2 separate regions of the Homo sapiens genome follow, and region 2 is linked to region 1. The links are contacts of gene promoters, found by promoter capture Hi-C in human tissues and cell types (Jung and others, 2019). All regions are on one chromosome and are shown on one strand. The core of a region is centred on a gene start or on the middle of the fragment in contact, and the rest is flanking DNA. Distances in the headings are between cores, read along the strand shown. Region 1 holds the start of FOXQ1 (forkhead box Q1). Region 2 overlaps LINC01622 (long intergenic non-protein coding RNA 1622).

The links. Contacts are between HindIII fragments. The study calls those that stand out against the background at their distance.
Region 2: a contact is called between a fragment that was not itself captured here and the fragment with the promoter of FOXQ1 in region 1, in 2 of the 25 tissues and cell types used here (dorsolateral prefrontal cortex and lymphoblastoid cells).

Annotation. Positions count from the first base shown.
Region 1 is chr6:1,310,736-1,315,108 of GRCh38, reverse strand. FOXQ1 (forkhead box Q1) reads right to left here and starts at 3,011. Exons shown (of 1, transcript NM_033260.4): 1 at 351-3,011. The coding sequence starts at 2,404. The coding sequence ends at 1,193. RefSeq lists an enhancer at 1,841-2,557. The HindIII fragment of the contact is 14,044 bases long and covers 1-4,373 here.
Region 2 is chr6:1,084,184-1,088,782 of GRCh38, reverse strand. The region is part of intron 1 of LINC01622 (long intergenic non-protein coding RNA 1622); the gene reads left to right. Among named protein-coding and RNA genes, the nearest start is that of LINC01622, 15 kb to the left of the region's middle. The HindIII fragment of the contact is 4,020 bases long and covers 1,325-4,599 here.

The sequences.
Region 1 (4,373 bases), core at 1,762-4,261:
TGAAAATATCTGTTTGACTCTAGGCTTGTTAAGAACTCAACTTGCCTGCTAAGGATTCTTGGGGGAGAGAGGGACACTTCCCTCTCATTTGTTCTGGAAGCACTTAGGTGACTAATTAGAGGAGTAATTGGTTTTCAACTTTTAAAAAGCCCATGAATGGAAGTCCTATCTGGAAATCTGTCTAGCAATGCATCTCATACGGAAATCTGCAAGCCCATTCTATAATACCTTTATCGAATTATTCAGGAAAATATTTTTATCTCCAGAGGAAGTTTCTTGAGACCAAAACCTGAGCCCATTTTTTTGGGAGGGGGGACAGACATAAAAATCTCTCCACTTCCAACCCATCATCACAATGTGTTAAGTCAGTTGTTTTATTAAAAAATAAGCACTATGCTTGGGTTTCATAAAATTTATACATGAATATGTACACAGACACAAATAAAATAATATTAAAAATAAAAATCACACTTGCTTTCAAGGCAGTGGTCCTGGCACCCCACATACATAATCAACTTTTCCTTTAAAGAAATTGCTTGGCCCAAGGAGACCACAGTTAGAGAACCACTAATAAAGCTGTAGCCCGTTGCCTGCAACATTTTCAATTCGGGTTTCAAAAATATATAAATAATTTAATTACAAAACCCAACATTTTTTTTCTCTTTTGGCACAGTGAAGCATCGGTCAATAGCAAGAAATCACTGAAGAGCCTCTGACATGTCTCTCACACTCAGTCATACCTGGAAATGCCACATACGTACACGGATGGGGGCCCAGAAACCCCAAACAGTAGTCATATCATTTATAGTGTGGAAAGGTTCCCTGATGTACTTAGGGGGGAGGGAAGGGACATAAATCAATGGAAGTTGCGACAAAAACAGTAGAAATAAGACGAAGCCTGGGCGTTAAAGAAAGACAAAAAAAGTCCTTATGAAGGGAAGGAGGAGCAGGCTTCGCAAAGAAACTAAAACAAGAATTGCTTTGGTCCTCTGTAAAGTTATAAAACACAAAGGAAAATATCCTGGACTAAGTTTAAATACTCCTGTCAAAATGCTTTAGCTTTAAGGCACGTTTGATGGAGATTTTAAAAATTCATCTTCCTCTGGATTCAAAGTGCAAAGTCCGCGCGCGGGCCCGCGTTCCCGCCTCCCCGACGGCGCGCACTCGGCGTTCCCGGGCCCCGCGGCGCTACTCAGGCTAGGAGCGTCTCCACCGGGTACGGCAGGTGCGGGCCAGGGCGGCGGACTGAGGCCGCCTGCAGGGCTGCGGGCAGCCGCAGGGGGCAGTACAGGTGCGCGCCGCCGGCCGCCGGGCCTCGGAGTGGCTTGGCGGGGGCCGCCGCCGGGAGAGGTGCAAGCAGGAGGGGCGGCGCGGTCGGTGGCACCTCGGCCTCGCGCGCGCCCAGCCGCGCCGGCTCGCCCGCGCCGTACGCGCAGAGCGGCAGCAGGGCCCTGCAGGGCGCCGCGGGGAGGAGCGCGGGGAACGCGGGCAGCGGCGGGCAGGGCGCGGCGCCCCACTGAAGCGTCGTCCCGGGGGCCGTGTCCCTGAGGCGGCGGCTGCGGAAGGGCTTGCGCAGGATGCTGTCGATGGCGAAGGAGCTGGAGAACTTGCCCGCGGGGCTGGCGCGCTCCTCCTGGCGGGCGGGCGAGCGCATGCGGGGCGAGGCCGGGGCGGCGGGCGCGGGCGGCGGGGCGGCGGGGAGGCCCGGGGCCTCCTCGGGCCGCAGCCCGGGCGCGGGGACCGGCGCGCGGTGGCTGAGGCGCTTGCGGCGGCGGCGGAAGACCCCGTCGGCGAAGGTGTACTCGCTGTTGGGGTTGAGCATCCAGTAGTTGTCCTTGCCCCAGGGCCGCGAGGGGTCGCGCAGCACCTTGACGAAGCAGTCGTTGAGCGAAAGGTTGTGGCGCACGGAGTTGCGCCAGCCCGTGTAGCTGCCGCGGAAAAAGGGGAACTTGCCCATGAGGTACTCGTTGATCTCCGCCAGCGTCAAGCGCCCGCCCGCCGAGTCGCGGATGGCCATGGCGATGAGCGCGATGTACGAGTAGGGGGGCTTGGGCCGCCGCGTATATGGCTTGCTGCGTGCACCCTCGCCGCTCCCCGCGCCGCCCGCGCCTGGCCCCGCCGCCCCGGCCTCCGCGCCCTCCGCCACCACCGCTGCAGCAGCTGCTGCCGGGATCGCCTCCTCCGCGCCCGGCCCGCCTCCCGCACTCTGTTCGCCGTCGCCCTGCGTATCTCTGGCGCCGCCGCCCGCGGCCGGGCTGTTGGCCGCGCAGTCCCCATCTGAGCCCAGGGAGTCGTCTCCCGCCGCCGACAGCGGGGACGGCGCGTCGCTGCCGCCCGCGCCCTCCAGGTCACTGCCCTGCTTGTCCCCGTGGGCCGCGCGAGGGACGAACACCTCCAACTTCATGCCCGCGCACCCAGTCCCTCCCCGGCGTCGTACCCTCTTCCTTCGCGCAGCCTAGAGAAGCTGGTGCCAGGGAAGGGGATGGCGATCCGGGGCCGGGGATCTTCGCCTTTTTCTCCCGGGAGCTCTACCCTGGTCTTCCGAGATAGTCACTTTTCCGGAGTCCTCTTCCGCTGGGCTTTTTCTCTGGAGGGGCTGCAAGTGTTGGGTGGACTATGGGGCGGAGAGGGAGGAGTTGGGTGGGTGTCGCCTTCGGTTCGACGTTGAGACTTTGGGGTGAGTGTGTGCAGGGGCCGCGGTTCCACCCTCGGGTGCCCGAGCACGCCGGGCTTAGAAGGCTTTCCTGCCGGAGAGAAGCAGCATGCGCATCTGCTGCTCGTTAAAGAGCCCAGGAGGGGTTCTTCACTGGCGGTCCCAGGTCCCGCGCGGGCGTCTTCGGGGCACGGAAATGGTGCCGGATGATGTGCGTGCCACCGTGGGGGAAGGTCCGGCGCCTTCAGCCTTGAGCACCCGCGGAGGCGAGTCCCCGAGGCCGCTGCGCCCGCAGCCGCCTTCCCGCTCCCAGCCTCCGGGGCAGCATCTCCCCGCTGGCCTGCCGCGGCTGCGTCTCGCCTCCACCTTCGGGCCGGCCCAATATAACCCTGCGGCGGCTCCGCGGGGGCGGGGCCTGAGCGCGGACGGCAAGGGGTGGGGGAACGAGGTGGCCGAGGTGGTGGCGGCTCCCCAGTTCCCCAGCTCCCCAACGGGCGCGCACCAGGCGGAGGCCACACTGCAGCGCGGCGGCAAAGTCGCTGGCGCAGGTTGTTTGTTTTGGGTCGGCCGGCCCCGCCTTCCTCCTCCCGCCAATGGGGAGCGCGCGCGCCGCTGTGGGTTTGCGCGTGTCTGTGAGTGTGCGTGTGTGCGCGCGCGGGGCCGCTCCGCCAGCCGGCTCCTCCGTTCAGGTGTGGGCCCCAGCCCCGGGCAGCCCGCGAGGGCTCCCTGCGCCCTGGAGTTCGGGGACGCAGTTTAGGCGAGTGCGCCTGGTTGGGGGGACACGCCACAGTTCCCCTAGGGGGACACCTGAAGGGACTGGGTCTAGGGGAGCAGGGACTTTGCTCGGGCCTAAGCTGCACGCGGCGTATGTGCTTCTGTAGTAGTGAAAACGATGCTGCTTACGAAAGCAAACCCCTGTCGTCACTGCAGAGGTGCTGAACAGAAATTGCGCAGGACACTTGCAGTGACCTCTTTCGGGAGCCTTGTGCTGTGCCCCTTCCTATGAGCTCCTTTCAAGGACCATCTTGTCTTTTCCTCTTGTTTTAATGAATGCACTCCTGGGCTTGAAATTGTATGCGCCTTTTTGGATGACCTTTACTCTTGCTCACTAAATGGGCTCCGACTTTCACTTTTCTTTGTCTTACTTTACCTTTTTCTTTACCTGGCTGGTGACTCCTGCGGGAGGACAGCAGCGTCCTCCTCTTCCCCTGGGGCGGCTGTGTCTGGCGCAGGGTGCTGGGCTGTGCCTGCACTTGTGTCCCTGCGGAAGCCTCAGATGCCGCCGAGCTCCGCCGCTTGGTTCCCGGGATCTGACAGTCAACAGGAACGACGGAGAGGGCGTGTTCCCGGGGGCGGGGGCAAGAACAAACCGGTTCACGGCCATTTCTTTCCAATATTCCTTTGGGACTTTTGCTGTGACCTCACTGGCACCAGTGTCGGACAATCTCGAAAGGGGGGACCGTTCCTCACCCCAGGGCGCCCGGGGCGTGATCCCCACGCGGCGTCATTAGTCCAGGGAGCGGGCGCCTCGGCCCCGGGAAGGTGCACTTCCAGCCCGCTGCCCTGCCACGCCGAGTTTCCTCCTTTTTCCTGCCTTTGTTGCACAAAAAGCGACGGAGCCGCTAGTAGGTGGGAGCTCACCTTTGATGTTTATTTTATTACTTTCCACCATTTGTGTTGAAAACGTACACAATCCTCTCTTATCTTTATTCAGGGAGTT
Region 2 (4,599 bases), core at 2,085-4,584, 230 kb after region 1:
TCCAATCTCTGTTTGTACAACCTTAAGCCAATCTCTACCACCTCAACGGGCGGCGTCCCTGCAGATGGTACAGAAGTAGAGATGGCAATAAATCTAAAAGCTGAGTAAGCACTATATAAGGAACATTCATTTAGCAATTCAGGATCTGCTTATTTTAATTTGATCTTGTACTGTGCCAAACACTGATGAAACCACGATGAGTAGAATATGGTCTGTACCTTCAGTAGCTCAGAGAGGGACTGGTGTGTCCACAGGTTACCATGGTGAGAAGCTCAGAACTGCAGTGCAGATATGTGGGAGGTACAGGGGTGGAGGAGGGAGGGTAAGGGTTTCACAGGTCAGCAAGACACTTGTTTGGTTCAGGTGAAAGATTTCCACCTTGGCAGGAAAGGAGCAAAGACTTTGGAATGTAGCTTTGAATCACTTTTGGGGCTTTATTAATTTTTGTGAGACTCAACTTCTTCATCTGTTAGATGGGCTGATAATTCAACTTTCAGAGAAGTTATGCAAATTAGAAATAATGTATAGGTAAAGCAGCTAGAACCGAGCCTGGTATACAGCAGATACTCAATGGACGGTAGCAGTAATGATGACTAGCCACTGGAATATAGGGTCCTTAGGGATGGGGATTTTTTTTTTTTTTTTTGAGACGGAGTCTCCCTCTGTCTCCCAGGCTGGAGTGCAGTGGCACAATCTCAGCTCACGGCAACCTCCGCCTCCTGGGTTCAAGAGATTCTCCTGTCTCAGCCTCCTGAGTAACTGGGATTACAGGTGCCCACCACCACACACGGCTAATTTTTGGTATTTTTAGTAGAAACGGGGTTTTGCCATGTTAGCCAGGTTGGTCGTGAGCTCCCTATCTCAGGTGGTCCGCCTGCCTCGGCTTCCCAAAGTGCTGGGATTACAGGCATGAGCCACCGCGCTTGGCCGAGGATGGGAATTTATTTGCTGGTTTTATTCACTTTTATATGCCTCAATGTTTCTAGAACAATGGCATTTAGTAAACATATGTTAAAATAAAAGGATGATGGAAGGAGACAATAGCAGAGAAAACAGCACATGTAAAGGAAATGCCCGCTTAGTCTGGAGGTAGCAGGGAAGTCACATGGTTGGGCACACACCTGTGCGTGTGTGCGCATGGGCTGGCACTCGTCGGGAGAGAGGCAAGGGCGGGGCAGCGAGGAGGTGTCTCTAAAGAAATTTGAACAGCAGGTCCTGCCATCAAGTCGATCTGATATTTTAAGAGACATCATCCATAACATCACTTTTTATAATCCCCAAATACTTGCTTCTGGAAGGAGAGAAGATCTGACAGGAGGTATTGGGATTTGGTTCTGTGATCTAAAAGAGCCATAAATCTTAGGTTCTTTTTAACTAGTGCAGCCCAGGATATAAACACTGTAACTGTATTTGGATTTAAGTTCCGCCTCTTCCTGTGAAGCGAGGAGCTGCTTTGCAGGGGAGTATGAAATGCACACAGGCAATCTGCATGTTTGGCGTTTTCAAGGTTCAGAGTTACCTGATAAACCAAAATACTTCAGGCCTCAGCTTCCTCAAGCTGCTAAACTCTGCCTGCCACAGCAAGTGTGGACAAGGTGATTTGAAGCCCCCTTTAACCAGGTCCCAAATGACCTAGGACATTTGGATGTGGAGGGTTGATCCTGAGTCTAGCTTTGACTAAACTTAGAAGAGAGAGACTGAAGGTAAGAAAAGTTAAGTTGTTCCTGCTTTTACAAACGCTTCTCAGGAAAGCCCTCTGGTTCCAGAAATGCTGTGGATAAGTAATCTGAAACCTCTCCAAATCCAGATATCTCTAAGCGCTAGGAAAATGTTAGCAAACATCCTTTTAAAACAATAACAGTTAATATATAGTGAGCACTTGTTAGATACTATACTAACTACTTTATGTGCTTTATTTTGCTTAATTCTCCATGGGCCAACAAGCAGAACTATTCAAAAAATGATCCTGAGATCTCAGTCTACATGATCTAGGAAATGAGCTGGCTGGAACTGGAGTTTCCCCGCCTCCTCGAAGGAGGATGTGCACCTAAACTCAGTTTCCCACAGGACCAGCCGCAAACATTCCCCAAGAGGAGAGCTGCCCCTCTCCCCAGGACCCATGTTCCCTGGGTGCCAGGCAGCTGGCCTTCCTCAGATGCCTTCTCAGCTCTGCTGGCATCTAGACCCCGACGGCCTGGCAATCGAGTGGTCCCCCTGTCTCCTTACTGGAAAGTGGTGTTCGTGTTCATCCTTCGAGGAGATAGGACACTCAGGTCAGGACTGCAGCCCACTGCATGGCAAAGAGCTTTGTCTTTGCATTGGTTCAGTTTTCCATAGGATTATGAGAAGATGGAGACCCCTATGCCTTTGGGGCCTGACTCCTAGTTTCTAAATTTCCCCAGTAAATGCCATTCCTTAGTTTGCACTATGTGGTGTTGTAGAATCTATCCCAGTGCCCATTGAGCCCCATCCTTGCAGCAAATGTATAAGTTAGGAATTACTATGTTTAGTTAGAGATGAGGAAGTTGAAGACACAGACAAGTTAGCTAGTAAGTGGTAGGATTTGAAACCCAGTCATCTGATTCCTGAGCCTGTGATCTCAGAGAGGCTGGTAAACTCAATGGATCTGGCAATTTATAAAGGTCTGAATGAGTGCTCAACTCTTCAAGGAAGCACCCATGTGGAAGTTCACATCTAAGCACAGGTTCCAATCTCAGCTGCAGCACGTAGCCTAGATTTAGTCTTCAGTGGTGCCTTTTACTTTCTCCTAAGTCTCAGGCTCATGGCACCTTGGGGCCAGCTCCATGGAGAAAATAAGCTGAGAAAAGGAAGGAAGCAACATGGCTGGGTCTACAGAGAAGACGCAAGCTTCACTCTCACTCACTGCATGTCCAGGACAAAGCATGGGAGACGGAAGCAAACATCTTTTTAAATGTGGAGCTGAGCTTGCAAAAAAGTATGGGCTGCTTCCGGGATCAGAATAGAAAAAGGAGCCCATAGGCTGAGGCAGGCTGGGGGTGGGTGGGTGGCATCCCAGGGACGTAGAGCTTGGGCTTGCAGCCGCTCAGCGTAAGCGAGGTGGGCGCTGAGAACCGTGCTTGAATCCTGCCTCTCACCAGGGCCATTAGGGATTGCTGTCTCAGTGAGCGAGCAGCATAAAGGAAACGCCTCCCATCAAACAGCTATGGTAACACTGGGCCTTTCTGCCTTTTCTGGACTGGGAGTGGACAAAAGTCTCCCCCGGGAATTCTCGTCAATGGCCCTGCAGCACGTGGAGGTGAACTATGCAGATTCAGAAGAGCTGGGAAGCTATATTCATAACAAGCTTAACATTATGGTAAAACATCATTATTAAGAATTTTTAAGGCACTAAACAATAAGAAAATAGGCAATTCTATTTTCTTTCAACCCTAGTAACATCATCTCAATGTATTTAAAGCAAAACTTGACAGGCTTACAAGGAGAAAATGGAAAAACTACTAACTTAGTTATCCCTAAATTATAATAAACTCTGTGAGGGAAGGCACCTCAAAGCTTTGCTCACTGTTTACTCCAAGGGGCTAGAACAGCAGGTGCTTGATTAATATTTGTTAAAGGAATTGGCAAATAATGCCAGAAAAAAAAAAAAGTCAAGGATTTTGTCCTGGCCCTTCTGGAGCCACTTAAGGTGGTTTGAAAGATGACAGAGTAAGTTCCCATTCCCAGGGGACGTGTCACCAGAGGCCAAGTGCCCCGTCACTGGAGGGTATCAATGGAGGCTGTGCAGTCCAGCCCTGGAGGGATTCATGTTGCCTCCTGGGATCTCTATAGAGGAAATTCAACCACCCAAAGGAACAAATTAGTTCTATGATCATGTGGCTTATTTGGATATGGAGTAATTCCTTCTTGGCGATGTCCCATGCTCAAGAGAGGGACAGTCAGTGACAATTTGGGCCTTCTGGGGTGTGTATGATCTGGCACACAGCACACTCCTAAGTGTGATGTTATACAATCTATCCCCTTCATTCATTAGCAATGAAAGGTTTTAGAGCACAGCAAGCGCATTTCTATGCTGTTTCTAGCTATGCAACTAACAAAGTTGACGCTATTAACTGTATATAGGCAATTCTGCATTCCCCTAGTAGAATACACACATTCTAGTCAAGCCCCCACGGGACGTTGCCTAAAATTGACCAAGAACTAGCCTGAATGTAAATCTCAATAACAAACAAGAATTAGGGCCAAGTGTGGTGGCTCACACCCGTAATCCCAGCACTTTGGGAGGCTGAGGCGGGTAGATCACGAGGTCAGGAGATCGAGACCATCCTGGCTAACACGGTGAAACCCCACCTCTACTAAAAACACAAAAAATTAGCCGGGCGTGGTGGTGGGCGCCTGTAGTTCCAGCTACTCAGGAGACTGAGGCAGGAGAATTGCTTGAACCTGGGAGGCAGAGATTGCGGTGAGCCGAGATTGCACCACTGCACTCCAGCCTGGGCAACAGAGTGAGATTCCATCCCCAGAAAAACAAAACAAGACAAAATACAAGAATTAGTACGCACTAGATTCTCCAGCTAATATCCAGTTAAATCAGAAGTTAACAACGAAACCCACCACCAC